Regions from separate parts of the Homo sapiens genome. Here regions 2, 3 and 4 are each linked to region 1. The links are contacts of gene promoters, found by promoter capture Hi-C in blood cells and fetal thymus (Javierre and others, 2016). All regions are on one chromosome and are shown on one strand. Each heading gives the region's core, a stretch centred on a gene start or on the middle of the fragment in contact. The rest is flanking DNA. Distances are from core to core; before and after follow the strand shown. Region 1 holds the start of OGT (O-linked N-acetylglucosamine (GlcNAc) transferase). Region 2 holds the start of FOXO4 (forkhead box O4). Region 3 overlaps MED12 (mediator complex subunit 12). Region 4 overlaps ZMYM3 (zinc finger MYM-type containing 3).

The links. Contacts are between HindIII fragments. The CHiCAGO score rates a contact against its expected background, and 5 or more counts as called.
Region 2: a contact is called between the fragment with the promoter of FOXO4 here and the fragment with the promoter of OGT in region 1, in 4 of 17 cell types (fetal thymus, non-activated CD4 T cells, activated CD4 T cells and 1 more). The highest score is 6.0, in fetal thymus.
Region 3: a fragment that was not itself captured here is called in contact with the fragment with the promoter of OGT in region 1 in 2 of 17 cell types (non-activated CD4 T cells and total B cells); the score reaches 7.2 in non-activated CD4 T cells.
Region 4: a contact is called between a fragment that was not itself captured here and the fragment with the promoter of OGT in region 1, in 3 of 17 cell types (fetal thymus, naive CD8 T cells and naive CD4 T cells). The highest score is 8.7, in fetal thymus.

The regions. Positions count from the first base shown.
Region 1 is chrX:71,531,351-71,534,937 of GRCh38, forward strand. It overlaps OGT (O-linked N-acetylglucosamine (GlcNAc) transferase), which reads left to right and starts at 1,754. Exons shown (of 22, transcript NM_181672.3): 1 at 1,754-1,986. The coding sequence starts at 1,950. RefSeq lists enhancers at 805-2,004, 1,505-1,844, 1,670-2,328. The HindIII fragment of the contact is 929 bases long and covers 1,179-2,107 here.
Region 2 is chrX:71,094,310-71,097,896 of GRCh38, forward strand. It overlaps FOXO4 (forkhead box O4), which reads left to right and starts at 1,542. Exons shown (of 3, transcript NM_005938.4): 1 at 1,542-2,672. The coding sequence starts at 2,220. The HindIII fragment of the contact is 17,633 bases long and covers 1-3,587 here.
Region 3 is chrX:71,139,427-71,143,013 of GRCh38, forward strand. It overlaps MED12 (mediator complex subunit 12), which reads left to right. Exons shown (of 45, transcript NM_005120.3): 42 at 1,209-1,431; 43 at 1,804-1,944; 44 at 2,457-2,538; 45 at 2,749-3,024. The coding sequence ends at 2,792. It overlaps LOC124905197 (a long non-coding RNA gene), which reads right to left. Exons shown (of 4, transcript XR_007068262.1): 4 at 3,120-3,587. Among named protein-coding and RNA genes, the nearest start is that of NLGN3, 3.6 kb to the right of the region's middle. The HindIII fragment of the contact is 5,236 bases long and covers 1-3,587 here.
Region 4 is chrX:71,249,876-71,253,462 of GRCh38, forward strand. It overlaps ZMYM3 (zinc finger MYM-type containing 3), which reads right to left. Exons shown (of 25, transcript NM_201599.3): 2 at 2,714-3,399; 3 at 1,683-1,726; 4 at 1,303-1,369; 5 at 557-851; 6 at 151-328. The coding sequence starts at 3,380. Among named protein-coding and RNA genes, the nearest start is that of ZMYM3, 2.5 kb to the right of the region's middle. The HindIII fragment of the contact is 6,691 bases long and covers 1-3,587 here.

The sequences.
Region 1 (3,587 bases), core at 504-3,003:
TTTTATCATCTAAATAGTCTTCTGTATTGCTCTCTAGTAGCTTTTTGTGTCTACCTAACTAGGCTTCAGATTCCTTGAGGGCGAGGATTTCTGTTCATTTTTGTGCCCCCCACAGTGCCTTGCACATAGAGACTCTAGTAAATGTTACTTATTGGCTGAAGAATTAGGAACATGACCTGCATTTAACAACAAAAAGAGTTTTTGTTAATTAGCTAGCACCCGCTCATCAGCAAGGCCTAAACATCTGCCAGTGGAATCTGAGAAGTCTCTTCTAAAAGTTGAAAAGCTGAGTTTACTCATTACAGATAGGGAACTTGTAGTAGGTGTGTGTGTGCGGGGGGGAGGTTTTACCAGTTAAATCAAATTACAAGAGGTTGGTGCTCAATTTTCAGGAGAGTTTGTGTAGTGATTTTTGTCTTTTTCACTGCATGATGTGACTCTTGATTATGGGATGGAAGAAATTAGCATTATGAATTTTCTCTGTGCCATTTCCATAATTAATTGTTTGTTGACTGTTTTGAAGAAATTTAAGCAGAATTTGAGGACTTAGTTTTAAAAAATGTAGTGAAGGGGCTAGGTAGCAAAAACTTTTTGAAGAAATTCATTGACCTGCTTTCTTAGATCAAGGACTTTTTGAAATAAAAAGGCTCTCAGAGATCCAACTTGTAGCCTCCAGTGGCTTGTAATACTTTCTTGCTGATGTGGCAAGCTACCTTAAGTCGTTTCTAGAACAAGAGGTGAAGTATAAATACCAATGTGACAAAATGTCTGAACAGTAGACTTGAAACTGCAGGAAGATCGTAAGAACCGATTTGTTCAAGGAAGTAGAGGCAATTCATGACTCAATCTAGACGTGTGGTTTAGGCAGATGGCAAGTGAATTCATTTATCATTGTTGATCTGCTTTGAGCTCAGTGGAATCGCCGACTGTGACAATGTGCAGAGCTAGCTGGTGGAAATGAAGTCACAACTCGAGGAGAGTCATGGATTTTGACGAACGTGAATCACCTTTAACATTTTTATGGCTGCCTTCGGAGTGCAAACGCCCAGCATGTCCCTGAGTTATTAAACATTTGCCCTATCACCGTGGGCAGGAGTATTCTGAATACCAAAACGATTTTGAAATTTCAGGCTATACGGCCAACATTGAAGGTGTCTGCATTCAACTGGCCCTGTGAAAGCTTCAGTCTTTTTCATCGAAGTGCTGAAATCGATGGCCGAGTCACAATGAAGACGGGCTCAAATCGGAACCCTCTCGCTCCTCGTTTTGAGCAGCTGTCTTTGAGAGGCAATCTTCTGAATTGACTGGCTCAGAATTGATCCGTGAGAGTCGTAACCATCCGTTTTTGTACGAATACAGTTGATAAACTTTTTTAGACGCCTTTGGCATTTATGTTTAAAACGACACCACCTGCTAAGTAACAAACACTCTTCTTAATCGCGGTGGCAAAAACGTATCCGTCCCGTGTGTGTTTGTTTTTACCCTTCCGCTACACTCTTAAGAAACTTGGCCGCTTCCGCCCCAGAGAGTGCCCTAACCACGAGTCGGGTTGACAGGGCTGCTCGCATGCGCGGTCTCCACCGTGGTGTTTGTCGCAATGGGCGCTGCGCGGAGGACTACATGGAATCTCGACTTTGCAGCTTGAAGTCATTTTGTTGGCGGCGCTGGTTACCGGCTACCTCCGCGCGGGCACTTGATTGTAACAGAAAGTAGTTCCGGCCCATGTTGTTTCGGCCGAGGAGCCGTCGCCGCCATTTCAAGACCGTACTAGGTAGATGGTCAATTAGAGTTCCCAGGGTTTGAAGCCTGTAACTGCTGCCGCCGCTCAAGCCCTCCAGAGCATTGCTACGGCTGCTGCCCTTGTACTACTACCTCCAAATACGTTCTTGCTGGTAGTGGCGGCAGCAGGACCAATTACCTCTTTTTTGCTCTCCCTCGAGAAGCTCCAGATGGCGTCTTCCGTGGGCAACGTGGCCGACAGCACAGGTACCGGTGTCCCGTTCTACCTTGGCAGATGCCCCCTTGGGGTCTCGCGCCGTCCTCTACCTTGTATCACTCCTTCCCTCCCTTCCCTCGAACCATCCCCATTACATCAGTGACATTGCTAAGCTTTTCGTGGTCTACTGGCATCTGATCACATCGGGTTTTCCGCTGTTGTCCGCTTCCCGAACATTTCCTCCTCCTCCCTTGCTTGCTTTTTGCTGCCTTTCTTGCTTTGTTTTTATTTCGTAAATGTTCTAGCATTCCACTCTCTCCAGGCGCTTTTATCACACGTGCGCGCTTAGAATGTCGTGGAATGGACTGCATTGGAATCCCTGCCCTTTCACTCCTTTGCAGCGGTTTTCTCCCCTAATTCCAGCTCATCGCCTCTCCTTTTTCCCCTCCATCTCCTCCTTCATCTCCCCCCCCAGTCTTTTCCCCTTAGCCAGATTTGGTCCTTCTCTGCCAATCTAGGGCGGGGGTGCCGTTCCGATGTAATCATATCCTCACTTTGCATCACCCGAGGACGATCAAAAGCTCGTCGATGGTGCCACAAGTCACCTCGAGAAGAGGGGACATTGAGCAGCACCCTGCTAGGCAGTGCCTTTCTGGTGTTCTTTCGGTTGAGCGGTCCCGGTTTAGATTGGAAATTTCCAGGGGTTTCCTTTGCCATCGCCCAATTCCACCGCTGCCCTCAGCCTGGATTTCCCACCCTGTCCGCGGGGAACCACACCCTTCCCTTCGCGAGGTTGCCAGCCCTGTTCACTTCCTATCCTTGGGGGAGAAACCACCCCGATGCTGCTGCTTTGGCGTTGACCACCCTGCCCGCCCAATTCTCGCTTTGTGTTACTTTCTCGATGTATTCCTCCGCCGCCGCCTCTGGGTCTGCCATCCCCATTCTTCAGCCCAGTATCTCTTTATTCACAGGGTGTAATATTCTTTTAAGTTTCCATCCCTGCTTGAAGAGTTTGTAAAGCAACTGGAGTGTAGCTGCACAAGTACAAGGCGGTTGCCCTTTTAGACACTTCAGTCGCGAGCATTTGGTACTGAAAATACGAAAACAACCAAATTGTAGGAGTGTCCTTCAGCTGCCTTTCCATATTGAGGCGATTTGGGCGGAAGGGGGTGGGGAATTGGGCTGCGCTTCTGAGGTTTCCCGCGAGGTTATTTTTTGGTTGTTTCTCAGTTGAGATGTGTGGAGGGTTTTAGCTACTGTTCCTGGAAGTTGTGCTGTAAGTAGTAGGTGAATCGTCAATAGTGTCTTATCCGTAATTGTAGGGAGTGGGATTAATAATTAGTCCGTGCTCCTCTCCCCACGTCTCCACCGTGATTTTCAAAGGTTTAAGATTCTGTACTGGATTCTGTACTAGCTTGCCCTTTTTAATGTGTTATTTATTTGAGAAAGCTGTCGTTTCAAGTGTTAAAATAGCAGATAAGCGGCATTGAAAAGTGACAAAGTAATGTGTGAAAACAAGGAGCTAGGAAGTTCTAGAGACTTAGCTAAAATGTAATTTTAGTTTCTATTAAAGATATAACCTCTCCCAGATGTGGATGCAAGTCTCAATGCTCTTTGTGTTGGTGGTCAGCTGTGCATTCTGTCAGGAAAT
Region 2 (3,587 bases), core at 292-2,791, 440 kb before region 1:
AAAGAAAGAAAGAAGGAAGGAGAAAGAAAGAAGGAAGGAAGGAAGGAAAGAAAGAAAGAAGGAAGGAAAGAAAGAAAGAAATTATACGATCGCATGTAAGTTATATAATCCCAGTTCTGCCTCGTTGGGCAAGTCAATCTCTGAGCATTGTTAGTGTCTTCATCTATAAAATGCGGATAATAGTGGTACCTACCTCATGGGGTTGAATTGAGGAGTAAATGATTGAGGAGTAAATGAACTAATGTTCGTAAAGCAATTTGCACAGAGACTGGCACATAATAAGGGCTCCATAAATTTTAGCCATAATTACCAGACATGTTTCTTAGAACGGTAACCTTGCTGGCAGCTCTGAATATAAACTGTAGTGAGGTAAAGACTGATGGAAGGAGATCCAATTAAGATGATACTGCACCTTTTTTTTTTTTTGACAGGGTGTTATTCTGTCACCCAGGCTGGAGCACAGTGGCATGATCTTGGCTCACTGCAACCTCCACCTCTTGGGTTCAAGCGACTCTCCCACCTCAGCCTCCCAAGTAGCTGGGACTACAGGTGCGTGCCCCACACCAGGCTAATTTTTCTATTTTTAGCAGAGATGGGTTTCACCATGTTGGCCAGGCTGGTCTCAAACTCCTGACCTCAAGTGATCCGCCTGCCTCGACCTCCCAAAGTGCTGATATTACAGGCGTCAGCCACTGCACCCGGCTGATCCTACAATTTAAATGCAGTTATAAATAGGTCTTGAACTGGGATTTGGATGTAGAAAGTTACGGAGATGAAGAAGTAATGGGTAATTACCTCTAAGCTGCTGCTTGGAGCTTGGGAGACTGGGTAGATCAGGACTACCATAAGTCAAATTCAGAGATAAGGGTAGCCAGAGGATAGGGGTGCGGGTGCAGGAACAGATAATGAGTTTGGACCTGTTGAATGAGAAGTGAAGCCGTTGGAGATGTGAACCTGGAGAATATCGGTGTTGAAGGGAAAGCCAGAAGAGCCAGTGGAGGAAACTGATTGGTAAGTGAGACCTCACTGTCAGTGGGAACTGCATATGGGGGGATGAAGGCGGGTGGAGGGAGGAGGAAGGGGGTGAGGAGGAACACCACCGTGGGCTAACCATTTGTTTATGTTACACAAGCCCCCCACCCAACTCTCCAACGTGCATACATCCTATTTTCTAGTCAGTTCCTTGCTTCTTGCTTCTTGGTCTCCTGCATCTTTAAGAGAATAATTTTTTCCCTTTTGCCGTCTCCTAAATGAAGGAGGGAAAGGGCTAGCACCTCTCAATCTGGTCACCTACACGACTCTGAATCACAAGGGAGACAATGGAAAGGGGGAAAGGGCGAAAAACGATTCTTAAGAAAAGAAAGAGTCCGCGACGACTTCTAATAATTAAAGTTCCACCTCGTTATATCCTGCCACGCCGCTCTCCTGCCGCCGTATCGGGCTCCTGGCCGCGAAGCAGGACGGGAGATGTAGTCCTCAAGAGTGACCAGGGTGGCACGACTGCAGAACTCGGTTTCCCGACTGGCTTTCGAGGCGCGTGCGCAGATGGCTGCCCCGGCGAGTGGTAAACAGAGACGTCAGGAGGGGGCTGCTGCTTGGAGCAAAACAAAAGGGAAACCCGGGGGGCGGGGGGTGGGGGGGGTTGATAGGGGAATCGGTGCGGGAATAAGGGAGGCCGCAGCCGCGGGGACCCGGACCCTAGTAAGAGTGGCGAGAAGGGAAGAGGCGGGGGAAGGGGGAGTCAGGGGAGGGGCAAGTGACGCGGGGGAGCGGGGCGTGGGGGAGGGCAGCAATCCGGGTGGAGGAAATTTGGGAGGAGTGTCCGGGGGGCAGCAACTTAAAAGGGGGAGGGAACTGCGGCTAAGGAGACGTTCGGTGATGGGAGCGCAATATATGAGGGGATACAGTGCCTCAGGTTTAAAAGAGCAGGAAGCTGAGTGAGAGGTTGCAGAAAAAGTGTCTTCGCTCGGCAGAGGTTACAGGTGGCATCTCAGAAAGAGCTTTGAGGCTACAGGCTGTAGTCGGGAAGGGGATCGGAGAACTGTGTGAAGGGACAGCTTAGGGACTAGCGTCCTGGGACTAGGGGGAAGTTCGCGACTTTCTGAAGACTGGCAGGAATGTGCCTCCTGGCCCTCGATGCTTCCCCCCTGAGGGGAGGCATCGTGAGGGACTGTGGCAGGCTTCACTGAACGCTGAGCCGGGGAGGTCCAACTCCACGTATGGATCCGGGGAATGAGAATTCAGCCACAGAGGCTGCCGCGATCATAGACCTAGATCCCGACTTCGAACCCCAGAGCCGTCCCCGCTCCTGCACCTGGCCCCTTCCCCGACCAGAGATCGCTAACCAGCCGTCCGAGCCGCCCGAGGTGGAGCCAGATCTGGGGGAAAAGGTACACACGGAGGGGCGCTCAGAGCCGATCCTGTTGCCCTCTCGGCTCCCAGAGCCGGCCGGGGGCCCCCAGCCCGGAATCCTGGGGGCTGTAACAGGTCCTCGGAAGGGAGGCTCCCGCCGGAATGCCTGGGGAAATCAGTCATATGCAGAACTCATCAGCCAGGCCATTGAAAGCGCCCCGGAGAAGCGACTGACACTTGCCCAGATCTACGAGTGGATGGTCCGTACTGTACCCTACTTCAAGGACAAGGGTGACAGCAACAGCTCAGCAGGATGGAAGGTAATTATGACCCTCTTACCTTCTTCCCAACACCATCTACCCCCTGGACCCCCTAGCCTCCCTTACTTCTACTCTGGGGCCCCTTTTACTACCTCCCACCCCCACCCCCTTTGGGAAGCCCAGAGATCCACCTTCAATCTCCAGTTAGACAAACATTTACTTAGTACATAGTATATGCCACACTCGGTGCTTGATGCTGAAGGATCACAGATGAATAAGACACTGTCCCTGCCCTGGAGAAAATTGAATTCTCTGCTCACTGCTCAATATTCGCAGCACTTTGGCTTGGGCTGCCCCAAACACTTATTCCCACAGAGAAGTCTTTATCCTATGTACAGCAGGAACTGTGTGGATTCCCCACATGAACCTACCCTTCCCTCCTCCCCCACCTCCCACCCCAACACCTTTTCTCCCATTCCTGTGGGATTACTTGGATTCCCTGCTTGCCTCCCAGTACCTCAGTGTAGTGGTACTGTTCTAGCACTGCTCTACCCAGGAGGAGGGAGTGCAGTGGCAAAGGGTAAAAACAATAATATTCATGGGGAAAGGTAGCTGATCTCATGCACTAAGAAGAAAAAGGGCTGTGAGCTGCCACTTGGCTCAGCTTACCCTGTGCTGCCAAGAAACTCTCCCTTGTAAGGGGCTATCCAAGTTTTGGGGGGAAGTCATCCTTTACTGTTAAGGAATATTAGTCATGAAGAAGGAGGTAGGGCTCTGACTTTAGAGCACAAAGTTGGGAGTTCTCTTGGCCTTCTGTGAAGAAACTGTGAGAGAATATCTCAAAGGATACTCTGAAAAACTTGTCCTGAGAAAATATGGGGCTGTAATCACAAAATTGGGGAGCCTCAAGCCCTATTGCTGGCTTGTACCTCTCTAGGTGGTGAGGTCAGCATATAACCAAGTACAGAAGGTTGG
Region 3 (3,587 bases), core at 898-3,397, 390 kb before region 1:
AAGTCACTGGGGCTAGGCTAGGAGGGGGCAGGCTGAGAGATGGCCTTGAATGCTCAGCCGAAGAATTGAGACGCAGTCCCAGAAAGGGCTCTTTTGATCAGAAGAGTGATAGGAGGAGTTGGGTATGTTGCAAGGTTCCTTGGAATGAATGGATAGGATGTGTACTGGAAGGTGCAAGAAGAAGACTTCAGGCCAGGCACGGTGGCTCATGCCTGTAATCCCAGTACTTTGGGAGGCCCAGGCAGGCAGATCACCTAAGATCAGGAGTTCGAGACCAGCCTGGTCAACATGGTGAAATCCCGTCTCTACTAAAAATACAAAAATTATCTGGGTGTGGTGGCATGTGCCTGTAATCCCAGCTACTTGGGGGGCTGAGGCAAGAGAATCACTTGAACCTGAGAGGTGGAGGTTGCAGTGAGCCGAGATCGCATCATTGCACTCCAGCCTGGGCAACAGAGTGAGACTCTGTCTCAAAAAAAAAAGAAGACTTGAGACGGGGAGCCTGGCCAGTAGACTCTTGAAGTGATATACACATGTGGTAGAACAACTTGAAATGTTATTTGGGAACAACAACAGCAACAGCAAAAAACCTCAATGAGTGTTTATAGAATGCCTATCTTGTGCTAAGACTATTTTTTTCTTTTCTTTTCTTTCTTTTTTTTTTTTTTTTTGAGATGGAGTCTCGCTCTGTCATCCAGGCTGGAGTGCAGTGGTGCAATCTTGGCTCACTGCAACTTCCACCTCCCAGGTTCAAGCAATTCTCCTGCCTCAGCCTCCTGAGTAGCTGGGATTACAGGCATCCACTACCACGCTCAGCTATTTTTTTTTGTATTTTTGCTAGAGATGGGGTTTCACCATGTTGCCAGGCTGGTCTAGAACTCCTGACCTCAAGTGATCCACCCACCTTAGCCTCCCAAAGTGCTGGGATTACAGGTGTGAGCCACCGCACCCAGCCCTATTTTTCATTTTTGTAACAGAAAAATAGCTAATGCAGAATTGAAAAATTCCTAACCATTAAGGTTATGAGACACTAAAATAGAGTATCATCTTATGCAACTTATTCCCCAGACTGGAAGTCTGGTTAGTGACACGAGGAATGAATGAAATAACCTGCTAACGTTTCTTTCAGGTCAGGGACCCAAGGTTTATACTGACCCCCTCTCCTCACCTCCCTCATGCCTTGACCTCTGACCCTCTTATCTTTGGAGGTTTTCACACCAGACACTGCAGCAGACACCCATGATAAGTACCATGACTCCAATGAGTGCCCAGGGCGTCCAGGCAGGCGTCCGTTCAACAGCCATCCTACCTGAGCAGCAGCAGCAGCAGCAACAGCAGCAACAGCAACAGCAGCAGCAGCAGCAACAGCAACAGCAGCAGCAGCAGCAGCAGTACCACATCCGGCAGCAGCAGCAGCAGCAGATCCTGCGGGTAAGGCACTGGGATTTCATCTGGGACCTGGGAGCCCAGGGAGGAAGAGAGGCACAAGTTCTTCCCACACAGTTACCGAGACTAAACAAGGCAGTGTACCAAAACACCTAGCAGAGCGGCTGGCCTCTAGTGGTGCTGGAGAAGTTTTCTACCCTCCCCCTTTTTGTTTTCTGGGGATCATAGTGGGAGAGAGTTGGACATTGTCTGCTGGGTACCCTAGATTTGGTTTCTTTCTGTGCAGCTGTCTAAAAAGGGAAGGCAGTAGACCCCGAGCTCCCACCCTGCTTCCTCATCCCCTGCCCTCAGCCCTTTAGTTCTGAGGCTTAGCTTCCTCCCTCTGCTCCTTCTGAAGTATCTTTTGTGTTCTTATAGCAGCAGCAGCAACAGCAACAGCAGCAGCAGCAGCAGCAGCAACAGCAACAGCAGCAGCAGCAACAGCAACAACAGCAACACCAGCAGCAACAGCAGCAACAGGCGGCTCCTCCCCAACCCCAGCCCCAGTCCCAGCCCCAGGTAGCTGCTGGACTACAGCCCCAGGCTCAGGGACAGCTGCCCAGGTTGGGCACGCAGCCAGTGAACTGGGTTGGGGACAGTATGGAATAGGGTAGAGGTGGGAGGCAGGGCATGGCACCCTAAAAATGGATTGGGAGGCCAGGCGCAGTGGCTCACGCCTGTAATCCCAGCACTTTGGGAGGCCAAGGCAGGTGGATCACTTGAGGTCAGGAGTTCAAGACCAGCCTGGCCAAGATGGTGAAACCCCGTCTCTACTAAAAATACAAAAAATAATAATAATAAATAAGCCGGGCATGGTGGCAGGTGCCTGTTATCTCAGCTACTCAAGAGGCTGAGGCAGAGAATTGCTTGAACTTGGGAGGCAGAGGTTGCAGTGAGCCAAGATCATGCCACTGCACTCCAGCCTGGGGGACAGAGCGAGACTCCATCTCAAAAAAAAAAACGGATTGGGAAAGGAGGTTGAAGAAGGAGAAAAGTTCGACTTCAGTCTTCCACTTCCTATTTCCACCCAGTTCCAGCGCCAGGGGCTTCAGCAGACCCAGCAGCAGCAACAGACAGCAGCTTTGGTCCGGCAACTTCAACAACAGCTCTCTAGTAAGCCTGCCTGCCTTCCCAAGGAGAACCCCATGGAATAAATTTAGGGGGCGGGGTGGGCCAAAGTAGCTGAAACGATAGCTTCAGGCCCAGGTTATGAGAGGAGGCATTCCATTCCATCCCCTTCCCTCGATACCTGAACAGCTTTCCTCGTGCATACCCACACCCCTGCCTGGTCTTCCATCCCTGATAATCTCTGGTTTTTCACAGATACCCAGCCACAGCCCAGTACCAACATATTTGGACGCTACTGAGCCACCTGGAGGAACTGCTTGTGCACTGGATGTGGCCCCACCCTTTCCTCTTAATTCCCAATCCCATTCCTGGGCTAGCACCAGTAGTGGTTGGGGCCCTCCCCTCAGGCTCCATTTTTAATAAGTTTTTAGTATTTTTGTTAATGTGAGGCATTGAGCTGTTGGGTTTTGTATATTATTTATATAGAGACCCCAGAGCTGTTGCACCCAATACACAGAGCTTCTTTGCAAAGGGAGTGTGCGAGTTCTGCATGTCTGGGAAGGGTGGTCTCTTGGGAGAATGCAGGGGGTTGGACCAACAAGTCAGAGTCTTCATTCTATTCTGATCATCTCCCCTGTTTACCTTACACTCTAAAATTTCTTTTTTTCTTTTTTTTTGAGACGGAGTCTTGCTCTGTCGCCCAGGCTGGAGTGCAGTGGCGCGATCTCGGCTCACTGCAACCTCTGCCTCCCGGGTTCCAGCGATTCTCCTCCCTCAGCCTCCCGAGCAGCTGGGATTACAGTTATGTGCCATCACGCCCGGCTAATTTTTGTGTTTTTTTTGGTAGAGACAGGGTTCCACCATGTTGGCCAGGCTTGTCTCGAACTCCTGACCTCATGATCTACCTGCCTCAGCCTCCCAAAGTGCTGGGACTACAAGCGTGAGCCACCGCGCCCGGCCTAAATTTCTTAATTCTAATTGGATTGCTACCCTCTCTTCCTCTTCTTCAACATGGCAACACATTAAGGTATAGGCCCTTAGTCTCTTTTTATTTATTTTTGAGATGGAGTTTTGCTCTTGTCGCCCAGGCTAGA
Region 4 (3,587 bases), core at 394-2,893, 280 kb before region 1:
AAGCTCTGTCCTTGAATACGCTCCCTCATGATGGCCGCCTTTCCTCCCCACTCCCCTTTCCACAGGGCCTGGACCCTGCAGCCCCAGGATGGGAGGGGCAGGTCAGGGCTGGCCAGGCTCTGTAAATCAGCCCCCACTGAGTGTCCTCACCTCTCCAGTCTTCTGGCATATGCTGCAGCGAGTAGCGTCGGCGGGATCCCCAGACTGGGGGATCGGGCGCTGCTGCTGGGCCTCATACAGGGAGAGACAGACGGATGTGCAGAACTCATGGAAGGAGCCTCCAGAACCAGTCTGCGCCACAACCGAGTCCTTGGTGTTCCAGATCTCCCTAGAGGTGGGAACAGGTTTGAATATTCACTCAAGACCACCCTCTCATTTCCTCAGCTTCCGCCCCTCCTCCAGGATCAATGACCACAGAGCCAAATACTCTGACTCTCTCCCTACATCACTCTCTCGCCCAGCTCCATCCTGCTAGGTTCTTACCAACAGTCTCTGTCTTACTCATACTCCTGCCCAGATCCCTGCCCTCTGCATAGCCCCCAAGACCCTCACGCACTTCTTGCAGAAGGTACAGGTCTTTTTGCCCGAGGGCTTCTTGGAGAAAGTGGTGAGGCAGGATGACGAGCAGAAGAGCTGAGGCAGCCCCTTGCGCTGATAGGCAGTCTGCCCCTTCTGCAGTGGTGTCCGGCAATGTGCACAAGTCATCTTGGTGCCCACTGCAGAGCGCCCGGCCCTTTGTGACACACTTGAGCGTAGGGACATGCGAGGAGAGCGCCGGGGCCGGAATGGCACAAAGTCCTCATCATTGGGGTCATCTACCATGGCATCAGAATCCTCATCTGACACTGGAACTGAGAAAGTGGGGGGATGGACATGAGAAAGGCCACCAAACCAGGTCTCCAACCATCCCCTGACCAACAGTTCAGTCCCTCTCCTGGGATCCCTGTTGTTCCGGCCTTTACACCCTGGCCCTTGTTACATCAGTATCTTAAGACCTTGGTGTCTCTCTCCCTTGGTTACTCTGTAACCTCCCAGGGAGGGAAAGGGAGAGGCTCTAAATGAGAAGATTCGGAGACAGAGATGGCATAGCTGAAACAGGAAACTCGCCATTCTCACTGCTCTTGTTTTCAATTTCCCCCACTGCCCCTGGTTCCCATGCCAACCCATAGCAGAGACAGGCACTTCATGCGCTTCATGGAGCAGGACGGCAGGAGCTAGAAGATCCATGCCCTGCCGCATGCCACTTTCGGACCTTTTCCACACCCAGAACTCCCAGGTCACACTTCCTCAAATCCTACTTACTGCTCTCAGTGGAATCTACAACCTCAGGTTTTGGAGGTTCTGCTCTCCTAACGCGCTCGCTTCTCTTCTGTACCTCGGAAAGATGGGAGGGGAGGAAAACTGACACCCTGGCCAGGCTAACACTAGTACAGGGTTTGGGGGGGGATAGAAGATGGGAGGGGGAAGGGAGAGTGGGGACCCTTGGCCCAGCCCTTAGGAGGAGGGAAGAAAAGGAGGTTGGACTTTCTCCCCAACAAGCAGTAGACACTAGTGCTCCCTCCCTCCTCCTAACTCTCCTTACACACACTCTCTACAGAACAACATCTGGGAGGGAAAATGAAGGGTCTGTCCTTCCCAGAGCTAAGGGGGAACCAGACTCCTTCCAATCCCCTCCCCCTCACCCGTTCAGGCGGCTTCTCACTCGCCTTCGCAGTCAGGCCATCTCCTGCAAAGGAAGCAGAAGGCAGCCTAAATGTTGAGCCTGCCCTCACCACCCTCTCCCCGGCCCAACCCCCGCCTCCATTCCTGGGGAAGAACTTACTCAAAACTGAAAGGGAAAACTCGAGTGCCTGTGGCTTCTTGGGGCCCCTCTCAGGGTTACCTCAGGCTCTGTACTAAGGGTGGGGGGGTGCACGTGCAGCTATTCCATGAAAAAAAAAAAATCTATCCTTCCCACCAGCTTTCTGTCCCAATCCTTGGGGGTTAAGGAAACACAGGTAATATACCTTTCATTAAGAATTTATATTTTACCAATGAAAAACACACACAACCACCCAAAGGTAGCAAAAGGAAAAGGAAGCATCAGTGTATGGGTAGCTTCCCCTGGATTCAGGTGGTTATATAAGCCCTAAGACCCTCGTCACAGCCTGATAGAGGCACACCACTAGGCAGAAGAGGGGAGACACTAGAGCCTCTCAAGTCAAGGTTGTCCCTCCCCTATCAGAGACGCAATCCTAGACCCTGCATTTCTATCGCTCTGCTGAAATCCTTATGCTGTTAGGGGCTCCAGAACCTAGTTACCATTCATCAAACCCAGAAATCCCACTCCCATCTAGAACCAAAAAGCTGTAAAGGTCTTAGAACCAAGAAGCCTGGTGTACTCCCCCAAATCCTGAAGGAAGGACTCTGGCACCAAAAGCCCACTGGGGTAGGAAAAAGGGAACCCTTCCCACCAAATTCACTCCTCCCAACCTACGCTCCCTGAAACCTTACCCCATTCCTCCCCCACAGCCTGTGCCCACCCCTACTTTCCTTAATCTTCCTCTACACACCACCCCACTCCTCCCTCGTAAACCCCAAGTCCTTCCCCACACACATCCCTACACTTATCTCTCCACCCTCCTCCTCCCCACTACTTCCCAAAGCACATAGCCACCCCTCCTTACCACCACCCTCTCCCAGCCCTGATTCTCCAGATAATTAGGCAACCTACCTGGCAAGGAAGGATGTGCAGGGGGGCTAGAGCCCCCAGGTTTGGTCTGAGAACTGTTGATTCCATCCCCCAGAGTCTCTCCCACTGAAGGGCTAGGCGGGGCATTTGGGCTCTGTGGCTGCCCTTGGGGAAGCTCCTCCTCCTGCCCAGGGGAGCCCCTTCTTGCAGTAGCTATGGAGGTGGTCTCCTCCTCTTCAATATGTGGGGACTGCAGTGTTATTGGAGAATCTGGAGCCAAAGGCTCTAGTAGCCCCTCAGGTGAACAGGAATTTGCCCCAGCCCCTGGATCAGGTGGTACCACCTCAGGGGTCTGGCCCCCTGGTCCAGGCTCTAGGGTCTGATCTCCTGCATCCCATGCCAGGGTTCCCTCAGGACCGTGGTCCACCTCCGGGGGAGAGGGGGCTTTATAGAGCAGCCCCCCCAGCCCCAGCAACTCAGTGGCTCCATCCAGGACTCCAGGGTCTTTTTCCAGGCCAGCAGGGGTATCAAGCAGGTCCAGGGCTCCCGAGGATGGAGAAGGGCCAGGGGGGGCCCATCCTCGAGTTGGGGCAGTCTGGGATTCCAGTAGATCCTCTCCAAATTCCATGTCTACTGGTAGGTCTCCAGCCAGGGGCTTCTCTGGCAGGGTCAATGGGTCAAATGGACTGGGGAAATCACTGGGGTCCATGAGTATGGCTGGATATGTACTGCAGATTAGGAGTAGAAGAGGGGGCAGTAGAGGTGGTCTTAGCCTGAATTCCTTCTTATATAGGCTCTGAGACACACCCCATCATCCACTTGGATTTCTCATGAGCAGCCCCCACCACCACAATCTACAAGCATTTCCGAAGGCTTTAGTCCTAATGACCACTCCCCCCAATACAGCGCCCCCAGT